2 separate regions of the Homo sapiens genome follow, and region 2 is linked to region 1. Evidence: promoter capture Hi-C in human tissues and cell types (Jung and others, 2019). All regions are on one chromosome and are shown on one strand. Each heading gives the region's core, a stretch centred on a gene start or on the middle of the fragment in contact. The rest is flanking DNA. Distances are from core to core; before and after follow the strand shown.

What was found. The method cuts DNA at HindIII sites, captures the fragments that hold promoters and counts their contacts. A contact is called where the count stands out against the background at its distance.
Region 2: a fragment that was not itself captured here is called in contact with the fragment with the promoter of DDX19A in region 1 in 1 of the 25 tissues and cell types used here (pancreas).

Annotation. Positions count from the first base shown.
Region 1 is chr16:70,344,293-70,350,052 of GRCh38, reverse strand. It overlaps DDX19A (DEAD-box helicase 19A), which reads right to left and starts at 3,150. Exons shown (of 12, transcript NM_018332.5): 1 at 3,005-3,150. The coding sequence starts at 3,061. DDX19A-DT (DDX19A divergent transcript) reads left to right here and starts at 3,306. Exons shown (of 5, transcript NR_039997.1): 1 at 3,306-3,854. RefSeq lists enhancers at 2,906-3,395, 2,914-3,531, 3,532-4,150. The HindIII fragment of the contact is 37,288 bases long and covers 1-5,760 here.
Region 2 is chr16:70,405,631-70,411,390 of GRCh38, reverse strand. The region is part of intron 1 of ST3GAL2 (ST3 beta-galactoside alpha-2,3-sialyltransferase 2); the gene reads left to right. Among named protein-coding and RNA genes, the nearest start is that of ST3GAL2, 31 kb to the left of the region's middle. The HindIII fragment of the contact is 9,507 bases long and covers 1-5,760 here.

The sequences.
Region 1 (5,760 bases), core at 1,901-4,400:
AAGCACTGGGATTACAGGTGTGAGTCACTGCACCCAGCCTTCTGTCACTTTCATTGGTTATCTCTACACTAGAGAGCAGAACCACATGATAACCTAAGACCATGAATCATTTATTAAGTGAAGGTACACAAGTCTACATGGTGAAAAAAAAGGTCTTCTCCAACTATTAGGAAGCCTTTATTTATACCAGCCTTCTGATAAGCTGGATGCTTAGAACCAGATACCAAGTATGTTTAGGCCTATATTTGTGATATTCATGTCACAGCTAGGTTAGGATCACAGATTTCACAAGGTTTGAAACCAATTCTCAGTAACTCTTTCAGAGAAGATCTGATGCTAAACGCTAGATTTTAAACTCCAGAGTGCAAGGACCATGCCCTTGATAATGCTTTGTAATTTCTTTGTGGAAACTGCCAGTTTTATACCTCTGACCTGCTCCTTCTCCTGAACTCCAGTGCTGTATTTCCAAATGTCTGATGGCTACCGGGCAGAAGAGAACACAGCAGGCCTGACCGCTCTCCTTAGGAAAGCCTATTTGCAAGGCTGGCCCTTGGCTGTCACCTGCGAACTTGGACTTTGGGAAGGTTCCCATCATTCCTAGAACTGATAAGAGGGGGTCAGTCTGCCTCAACTCTTTTTAAAAACAGTTGCATGTAATTTATGCTAACCACCTGCATTCCTTCTGGAAGTCTGGAATTCTGGTACATGCTAGGCACAGGGTGACTATATGACAGCCCCCCAATAAAAGCCTCAAGTAGAGTCTCTAACAAGCTTCCCTGACACCACTTCATATGTGCTGTTACAATTTGCTACCGGAAGAATGAAGCACACTCTGTGGACTCCATTGGGAGATAACTTGGAAGTTTGCCTGGTTTCCTCTGGACTTAGCCCATGAGCCTTTTTCCTCCACTAATTTTGCTTTGTATCTTTTCACTATAATAAATCATAGTTGTGAGTACAACTACATACTGAGCCTGTGAGTTCTCCTAACAAATCGTCAAACCTGGCATCTCTTGGGGACTCCCACAACAGGTACTTACCAAGATGTTTCCTTATTTTAAATTCAGAACAGCCAAACCTGAACTCACCATTCCCTTTTTTCTTTTTTTGAAACAGGGTCTCACCGTCACCCATGCTGGAGTGCAGTGGTGTGATCACAGCTCACTGCAGCCTCAACCTCCCTAGGCTCAGGTGATCCTCCCACCTCAGCATCCTGAGTAACTGGGACTACAGGAGTGTACCACCACCCCGCCCAGCTAATTTTTTTTGTATTTTTGTAGAAATGGGGTTTCGCCATGTTGCCCACACTGGTCTTGAACTCCTGGGTTCAACTGATCTGCCTGTCTCAGTTTCCCAAAGTGCTAGGATTACAGGTGTGAGCCACTGTGCCCAGCCTTCACCTCTTTTTTTTTTTTTTTTTTTTTTTGAGACAGAGTCTCACTCAGTAGCCCAGGCTGGAGTGCAGTGGCGTAATTTTGGCTCACTGCAACCTCCACCTCCCAGGTTCAAGCAATTCTCATGCCTCAGCCTCCTGAGTAGCTGGTATTAACAGGGGACGACTACCACGCCTGGCTAACTTTTGTATTTTTAGTAGAGACAGGGTTTCACTATGTTGGCCAGGCTGGTATCAAACTCTTGACCTCGAGTGATCTGCCCGCCTCGGCCTCCCAAAGTGCTGGGATCACAGGTGGGTGCCATCATGCCCGGCTGCCTTCACCATTCTATCAAATCTGCCCTTCCTCCCACTTTCCTATTCCTGTTATTGGGACGTTAGTAGTACCAATAGGATCCAGGTTGAAAACAGAAACCTTTGGCTTTATCTCCCTTCTCTCCTTTATTATGTTAGCAAGTCCTACCCATTCTACCTTCATATCTTATACCCATCCCTTAATTTTCACTTCCACTGCCCAACATAGGCCCTCTATCTCGGGGCTATCAGAATAACTTCTACACTGATATTTCTATTAGCCATCACTTCTAACATATTCTGTTCTCTGTAGTTCAATAAATCCTTGCCAGCCTTGTCTAATTCTGTCAATAGCCCTCTCAAAAATCCCCATACCGGCTGGGCGCGGTGACTCACGGCTGTAATCCCAGCACTTTGGGAGGCCGAGGTGGGCGGATCACTTGAGGTCGGGAGTTCGAGACCAGCCTGACCAACATGGAGAAACCCCGTCTCTACAAAAAATACAAAATTAGCCGGGCGTGGTGGCGCATGCCTGTAATCCCAGCTACTCGGGAGACTGAGGCAGGAGAATCGCTTGAACCCGGGAGGCGGAGGTTGCGGTGAGCCGAGATGGCGCCATTGCACTCCAGCCTGGGCAACAAGAGCAAAACTCTGCCTCAAAAGAGAAACAACTACAACAAAAAAAAAGACAGTCCATTATCACTAAACAAACCTAAAGTTTAGGTCTTAGATATAAGAACAGAAAGCCACAGTGTATGCTGTAATTACATTCCAGTTGAATGAATATTCATTACTGAAAGAACAAGTACATGAAACCGTTACTTTACACATCAATGAAACAATTTGTAGTGCCTCCTTCCAACATCTGCAGTAGATTGAGGTATTAAATCCAAAAGTCAATCTGTTATTCTGCAAAGAGCTACAAACTACCAACCACGTTAAGCATGGATCTAAGAAATGTTAAATACAGAGTAGTACAGAAACATGCGAAGAACAGTCGCGTAATGAAAAAGAGAATCAGAATCTAAACTTGGCTTTCCTTATAATCGTCACCGAGGAGGTCAATAGAGGAATGACAGCATGCATAGTGGGGCGGATTTACCAAAGGATGAAGTCCTTAACCAGCCCAGATGGAGATAAAAAGCTCGACATTGGTCTCTTTAGCTCTAAGAGCAAATCAAGGGCAAGTGACTGCCCTAGCAAACTGCAGGAGCGCGTTGCCCAGGGGCCTCCCCAACCCGGGGAGCTCCCTGTGCTTTTGGGAGGTTTCGCTTGGGCCCCTGCTACGTCCTCCTCGCCAGGAGCTGAGCTACTGACCGACTTGACAGCCGCTTCCTGCTCGTCCACCGCCAGGGCCCACGAGTCGGTGGCCATAGTCCCGGACAAGGGAGACCCACTTGTGAAAATATGCGCTGCACCACGTCGCAACGCGGGCCCTAACCTCGCCACCGGCGCGAGAATGCACCTCACGCGGACCGGAAGCGGCGGTGAGCACAGGTGACGTCAGTTCCCACCCAGCGTGCGACATCATCATTCTGCGCGGCGCCAGGTCTCTCCTCGGGCCTCGCCTTTCCCTTCGTGCGCAAACCTCGCGCTTTTTGCTCACCCTTCCAGGACGCGGCCTCCTCGCTTCTTAAAATGTCTGAGCTCTACGAAGTGGAACTGTTAGCCCTCCGTTTATTGCCTTACTTCACACTGAAATAAGCCAACGTTTATTTTATTTTATTTATTTTATTATTTATTTTATTATTTTTTTTCGAGACGGAGTCTCGCTCTGTCCCAGGCTGGAGTGCCGTGGCGGGATCTCGACTCACTGCAACCTCCGCCTCCGTGTTCAAGCTATTCTACCTCAGCCTCCCGAGTAGCTGGGATTACAGGTGCCCGCCACCACGCCCGGCTAATTTTTGTATTTTTAGTAGAGATGGGGTTTCACCATGTTGGCCAGGCTGATCTCGAACTGCTGACCTTGTGATCCTCCCGCCTCAGCCTCCCAAAGTGTTGGGATTACAGGCGTGAGCCACCGCGCCCGGCCCCCAACGTTTCTTTTTAAGCCTGTCATATCTCACATTAAATGTGTAAGTCTCTGAACTGTAGGGCTTTGAACAAAGGAAAGTTCCATGAGAATACTATATGATGCCAATTTCTACTGTTAGGAACGCGATAACAGGTAAGAAAACAAAAACCAAAACGCAACAGAAGACCCGTAAACCCCATAATTCCACCATCCAATAAACACAACACACAATGCGTTTTTTCGTTTCTTTTTTGAGTCAGGGTCTCATTGTGTCGCCCAGGCTGGAATGCAGTGGTGTGATCTCGGCTCACTGCACCCTTGACCTCCCACCTCAGCCTCCCAGGTAGCTGGGCCCACAGGCCCGCACCACCACTCCTGGCTAGTTTTTAAACTTTTTGCAGAGACGGAAGTCTTCATTATATTGCTCAGGCTGCTTTTGATCTCCTGCTAACTCCAGAGATCCTCCTGCCTTGGCCTCTCAAAGTGTTGGGATTACAGGCATGAGCCACCACACCTGGCCATTATGTTGAAGGACCACCAAATACATAATGTATAATCTATTTATATGAGATTCAAGAATAGGACAAATAAAATCTATGCTGATAAAAACTAACAGAGCTTACCTGTGGAGAAGGATGTTTGGTCCAGACACAAGAGAACTTCCTGGGTGATAGAATTATTCTGTATCTTGATTGGGACCTGGTTACATAGATGTGTAAATTTGTTAAGTCATGCTACTTTGTATTTCTAAACTCATGGAACCATTATTTACAGATATCACCCAGGCTGGAGTGCAGTGGCCGGGTCTTGGCTCACTGCAACCTCTGCTTCCTGGATTCAAGCGGTTCTCCTGCCTCAGCCTCCCAAGTAGCTGGGATTACAGGCACACGCCACCACGCCCAGATAATGTTTGTATTTTTAGTAGAGATGGAGTTTCACCACGTTGGCTAGGCTGGCCTTGAACTCCTGAGCTCAAGGATCTGCCTGCCTGGGCCGCCCAAAGTGCTGGGATTACAGGTGTGAGCCACAGTGCTGACCTGCTTTTTCTTTTTTATAAGCAGTTCCCAAGGAAGAATAACTGTTTTTGTTTGTTTTTTGTGACAGGGTCTTGCTCTGTCACCTAGGCTGGAATGCAGTGGCACGTTCACAGCTCACTGCAGCCTTGATCTCCCAGACTCAAGTGATCCTCGCACCTCAGCTCCCCAGCAGCTGGGAATATAGCACTTCGCCACCACCCCTGGCTAATTTTTGTGTGAGAACTTGTGCATTTAAAATATCATGGTATATAAATTATACCTTTCAATAATGTTGATTAAAAATCAAAAAAAGGGCCGGGGGCGGTGGCTCACGCCTATAACCCTAGCACTTTGGGAGGCCAAGGCTGGTGGATCACCTGAGGTCAGGAGTTCGAGACCAGCCTGGCCAACATGGCGAAACCTCACCTCTACTAAAAATACAAAAATTAGGGCCGGGCGCAGTGGCTCATGCCTATAATCCCAGCACTTTGGGAGGCCAAGGCAGGTGGATCACCTGAGGTCAGGAGATCGAGACCAGCCTGGCTAACACAGTGAAACCCTGTCTCTACTAAAAATACAAAAACAAAATTAGCTGGGCGTGGTGGCGGGTGCCTATCGTCCCAGCTACTCGGGAGGCTGAGGCAGGAGAATGGTGTGAACCCAGGAGGCAGAGCTTGCAGTGAGCTGAGATCGCGCCACTGCACTCCAGCCTGGGCAACAGAGGGAGACCCGGTCTCAAAAAAAAAAAAAAAAAAAATTAGCCAGGTGTGGTGGGGTGCGCCTGTAATCCCAGCTACTCGGGAGAGGCTGAGGCAGGAGAATCGCTTGAACTCGGTAGGCGGAGGTTGCGGGAGCCAAGATTGCCCCACTGCACTCCAGCCTGGGTGACAGAGCAAGACTCTGTCTCAAAAAATAATAATAAAAAGGAATGAAATACATGCAATAACATGGATGAGAGATTTGACATCTCATCGCGTCTCGCTCTCTTGGCCAAGATCAAGTGGAGAGATTTGACATCTCATAGACATTATATTGCATGAAAG
Region 2 (5,760 bases), core at 2,288-4,787, 61 kb before region 1:
TTTTTTATTTTTTATTGCAATCACTGTCATCCAGGCTGGAAGGTGTGATCTCCGCTCCGCCCACTTCAACTTCCACCTCGTGGGTTCAAGTGATTCTTGTGCCTTAGCCTCCTGAGTAGCTGGAAATACAAGCACTTGACCCCACGCCCAGCTAATTTTTGTATTTTTAGTAGAGATGGGGTTTCACCATGTTGCCCAGGCTGGTCTCGAACTCCTGACCTCAGGTGATCTGCCTGCCTCAGTCTCCCAAAGCGCTGGGATTACAGTTGTGAGCCACTGCGCCCGGCTGCTTATTTGGAAAGGAAAATCTTTCCAAGATGGCCCTAACACATACTCCCTTGGGTCTCATTGACCTGAGCTGGTCCATCCTCAAACCAATTCCTGGTGAAAAAGGGACAGGCTTGCTGTGGTTGGCGCTGGTTGGCTTTGGCCAGTCTTGCATCATCTGCCAGGACTGGGTCCTTAGCTGCCCAAACAAATCAGGATTCTGTTGGCAAGCGAAAAAGAGAGTGGCCGCTGGTAGACAGCCAACAGTGTCTGCTACAGACGGCAAAACACAGAGACAAAAAAAAAAAAAAAAAACAGGATCTAAATGGGCTTTTAATTTTTTTTTTTAAGAGAAAACTAGAATTGTTGACCACATTACCAAGGAAGAATAAGAATAGAGAATTTTATTGTTAAGCCACACCAAATTTCTGCCTTGTTAAGAGAATGGCATTACTGAAAAACTGAAGACTTCATCAAGAAAATGTACATAAGCTAACAATATAAGATTAATCACTAAAAAAAAAGTAATATAATTTCCAGACCAGGAGGGGGAAAAAAAGTGGTGAGGGTTGGCCGGGCGTGTTGGCTCTCGCCTGTAATCCCAGCACTTTGGGAGGCCGACGCAGGCAGATCACGAGGTCAGGAGATCAAGACCATCCTGGCTAACATGGTGAAGCCCTGTCTCTACTAAAAATACAAAAAAAAATTAGCCGGGCATGGTGGTGGGCACCTGTGGTCCCAGCTACGGGGGAGGCTGAGGCAGGAGAATGGCATAAACCTGGGAGGCAGAGCTTGCAGTGAGCCGAGATCAAGCCACTGCACTCCAGCCTGGGTGACAGGGTGAGACTCCGTCTCAAAAAAAAAAAAAAAAAAAAAAAAAAAAGGTGAGGGTGGAGATAATATGTCAACCCAAGTCAGGAAAAGAAAAAAAATACAGAAAAAATAGTAGACAAAATACTGAATAAGATAGTAACATAACTCCAAGTGAAATGGATTAAACTCATCTATTTGAAAACAACAACAGCATCAGGTGAAATAAAAAGCAAAGAAGTCTGAGGACTGAGCAAGGTGGCTCATATCTGCAATCTCAGCTCTTTGGGAGGCCACGTTGGGAGGATCATTTGAGAACAGGAGTTGGAGATCAGCCTGGGCAACATAGCAAGACATCATCTCTACAACAACAAAAAAAACAACAAAAGTAGTGCACACCTGTAGTCCCAGCTACTTGGGAGGCTGAGGCAGGAGTCTGAGAGTTCAAGTCCAGCCTGGGGAACATAGCAAGACCCTGTCTTTATGAAAAAAAAAAAAAAAAAAAAAATTTAGCCAGGTCTGGTGGCGTATGCCTATGGTCCTAGCTACTCGGGGGCCTGAGGTAGGATCATTTGAGCCCAGGTGGTCGAGTCTACAGTCAACTGTGATTGCGCCACCGGCATTCCAGTCTGGGCAGCAGAGTGAGATCCTGTCTCAAAAAGGGGGAAAAAGCCTGGGCGCAGTGGCTGACACCTGTAATCCCAACACTTTGGGAGGCGGAGGTGGGCGGAACACCTGAGGCTGGGAGTTCGAGACCAGCCTGGCCAACACGGTTAAACCCCATCTCGACTAAAAATACAAAATTAGCCAGGCATGGTGGCGCATGCCTGTAATCCCAGCTACTCAGGAGACCGAGGCAGGAAAATTGCTTGAACCTGGGAAGTGGAGGTTGCGGTGAGCCAAGATCACGCCATTGTACTCCAGTCTGGGCAATAAGAGCAAAACTCCGTCTCAAAAAAAAAAAGCCGCCAGAGGCGGGAAGCTAGCTAGAATGTGGAGAGACCTGGTCTTCCCCACACAGGTGGTTTGAACTTTTTTCATAAAATAGAGATGAGGTCTCACTCTGTTGCCCAGGCTCCAACCCCTGGACTGAAGCGATCATCCAGCCTCAGTCTCCCAAAGTGCTGGGATTATAGGTGTGAGCCACCACAACCAGCCGAGAACTGTTTTTCTAGACGTTACTTCATGCCTTAGTGTAGATAGGTACAGCAAGATACTGGATTTCCCCCTGCCCACTCCGACTCAAAACACAGTGGGGCTCCCTCCTGAGGTAGCAGGTGGTGGATCTGAAGGGACCCTTCACCCCAACTCCCCTGCCGCACCCTCTCCCCGTGCCTCAGGGCCCAGCTTCCTCCTCTTAGAGGCCGTTTCTTTATTTTTTCTTTCTTTTTTTTTTTTTTTTTTTTTTTTTTTTTTTTTTTTTGTTTCTTTGAGCTGTCTCCTACAGGAAGAGGCTGTTAGGGTGCAGCCTCGATCTTTGTCCAGAGAAGACTGACAGTTTATTTCTCTAGGACTTCATTGAAAGCCAAAGTTATGCTCTTGGTTTGAAGAAGTGTGTTAGCTCTTGCCTTCTGGGTTTCTGGCTACAAACTCTGGGCGGCATCAAGAGGTACCAGAGCTGAGATTTCAGATGGATATAAAGTCAAAGTTGGATGTCCTGCAGGAAGGGAGGGGCTGCCCGAGGGTTTGGTGCTGCGGAGTGGAAAGGGCCTGAGTCCCTAGGGTAGCACTGAGGGGTCTGTGCCAGAGGCTGATACCAGGGTGTTGCAGTGCGGGTGACTTCAGTTAACCAAGCAGGGTGGTGAAGCGGCCCATTCTCAGACAGGTCAAGGACAGGCCTCGCTGCTTTTGAGTTGTTGGGGAGGGAGGGGCTTTCGGTAACTGGCCACCTGCGCCCACCCCCACCCCTCCGCCCCAGCTCCTTCTGCCTGGTTTGGGTGCTGCCCCCCACCCAGGAGGCAGGGAGTGTTCTGGGTTGCTAGGCTGGCAGGGATCTGGGGCACAGCGAATGTTTTGATGGTTGTACCCCAGTTAGTGGAAGAGTGCTTTGGGAAGGCAGTGGGGGCTGTGGAAGGAGCTCTGGGCTTGAAGTCATCAGACCTGGCATGGCGTTAAAGCATCTTCACTTCCGCCTGGCTGACCTTGTTCAGCTGGTCCTGGGACTCCTGCGCATACTAAATGAGAGGCTATCCCCCGAAAATGCTCAGAGGTTCATAAAGCATCGGTCCATTGGAGCAGTAGGCTGTGGCTTCATGCCTTTAGAATGAGCTTTGGGACACGTCCTCAGGCTGTGTGTAAGTGGGTGGAGAGGGGCTTTATCTTTCGTCTTTCTCCTCTCCCTCCCAGAGGCAAGCAGCACCCATCCCCCCAGGCTCCGTGCCTTATTTTGACGTTTCTTTTCTCTGCATGCCAAGAAGGTTGTATTCAGCTGTGCTGGTCTGAGGTGGTGCTTATCCTGTGCTTCATTAGGTTAAGTCGTTGATGGCTGTCTCCTGGGATCTGACCGAGAATTGGCTCTAAAGCTGCTACAGCCTCCAAAACAGTCCCTGCTGTTCTCGTTTTGGGGCACTCTTTGCTTTGCTCCTCAATCAGGTGCTTTTGTTTTTTCCTTCCATTTACCTGCGTGCTGGTGAGGGTCTCCTTTGAGGTTCCTTGTACTGGGAGGTGGAAGTAGCCCTTCGGCTGCATCTCCTGAGGATGGAAGGCGGGGTCTTCAAGGCCCTTGCTGCCCCTGACCTCTGGATCCTGGCTGCCAGTTCCTCTGGACAGCCTCAGCAACTTGGACATGGACCAGCCATTCAGGGGACATTTATTGATAAATGGTCTCCCCAAATTTGCCAAATTTGTGACCACAAACTTCTTAGAAGACTGTAGTATTGGCACAGTGGCTCACACCTGTAATTCCAGCACCTGGGGAGGCCGAGGCAGGCGGATCACTTGAGGTCAGGAGTTTGAGACCAGCCTAGCCAACATGGCGAAACCTCATCTCTGTTGAAAATACAAAAATTAGCTGGGCGTGGTGGCACGGGCCTATAGTGCCAGCTGCTTGGGAGGCTGGGGCAGGAGAATTGCTTGAACCCAGGAGGTGGAGGTTGCAGTGAGCCAATATTGCGCCACTGCACTCCAGCCTGGGCAACCGAGTGAGACTCCATAAAAAAAAAAAAAAAGGCCATAGTGTTGTCTTGCCACCTCCTAAATTTCCCTAGTTACTCCCTTTCTCTTTTAGAAGACTATTTCACATCTGGTCTCTCTGTAAATCTCCAACCCCAACAATAAAGGGACACTCCTCACTGTCTGTGCCGCTTGCTCGGCTTTGCCACCTGTCCCACAGGTAGCCCCCCTCCAGGACGACACTCGATGCCATCATCTCGTGCTGCTCCCGGCCTTTGTTCCTCTGTTCACTTCTTTTTCCTGGATCATAAATTTCCCCTCTAATAATTCATTCCCATCAGTGTACACACATTCTAGACCATCTCTCAGCTGAATCCCATTCCACATTCCACTCTCTTACATCCCATTCCTTTTTTTTTTTTGAGACAGAGTCTCACTCTGTCACCCAGGCTGGAGTGCGGTGGCACGATCTTGGCTCACCGCAACCTCCACCTCCCAGGTTCAAGCGAGTCTCCTGCCTCAGCCTCCGAAGTAGCGGGATTACAGGCGCATGCCACCACACCCAGCTAATTTTTGTATTTTTAGTAGAGATGGGGTTTTGCCATGTTGGCCAAGCTGGTCTCAAACTCCTAACCTCAGGAGATCCGCCACCCTCGGCATCCCAAAGTGCTGGGATCACAGCTGTGAGCCACTGTGCCTGGCCCCCCACTCCAGCCCAGGCTGGAGTGCAGTGGCATAATCTCGGCTCATTGCAACCTCCACCTCCTGGGTTCAAGCATTTCTCCTGCCTCAGCCTCCCTAGTAGCTGGGACTACAGGTGCCTCTGCCACCACCCCCCGGCTAATTTTTGTTATTTTTAGTAGAGATGGGGTTTCACCATGTTGGCCCTGCCACCACCCACAGCTAAGTTTTGTTATTTTTAGTAGAGATGGGGTTTCACCATGTTGGCCAGGCCGATCTTGAACTCCTGACCCCAGGTGATCTGCCCACCTCGGCCTGCCAGAGTGCTGGGATTACAGGGGTGAGCCACCACGCCCAGCACCATTCTCTCTTTTTGTTGTAACACCTTTATTGAGCTATAATTCACACACCATGCAGTTCATCTCTTTGAAACATACAAGTCAGTGGCTTTTTTTTTTTTTGAGACGGAGTCCTGCTCTGTTGCCCAGGCCGGAGTGCAGTGGCATGATCTCGGCTCACTGCAAGCTCTGCCTCCCGGGTTCACGCCATTCTCCTGCCTCAGCCTCCTGAGTAGCTGGGACCACAGGCGCCCGCCACCATGCCTGGCTAATTTTTTTGTGTTTTTAGTAGAGACGGGGTTTCACCATGTTAGCCAGGATGGTCTTGATCTCCTGACCTCGTGATCCACCTGCCTCGGCCTCCCAAAGTGCTGGGATTACAGGCGTGAGCCACCGCGCCTGGCTGTCAGTGGCTTTTAACCTATTCACCACAAACAATTTTGGAACATCACCCCAGAAGAAAACTCCAACCCACTGGCAGTCATTCCCCATTCTTCTCTATCCTCCAGCCCCTGGCAACTGGTAATCTACTGTCTGTCTCTATGGATTTGCC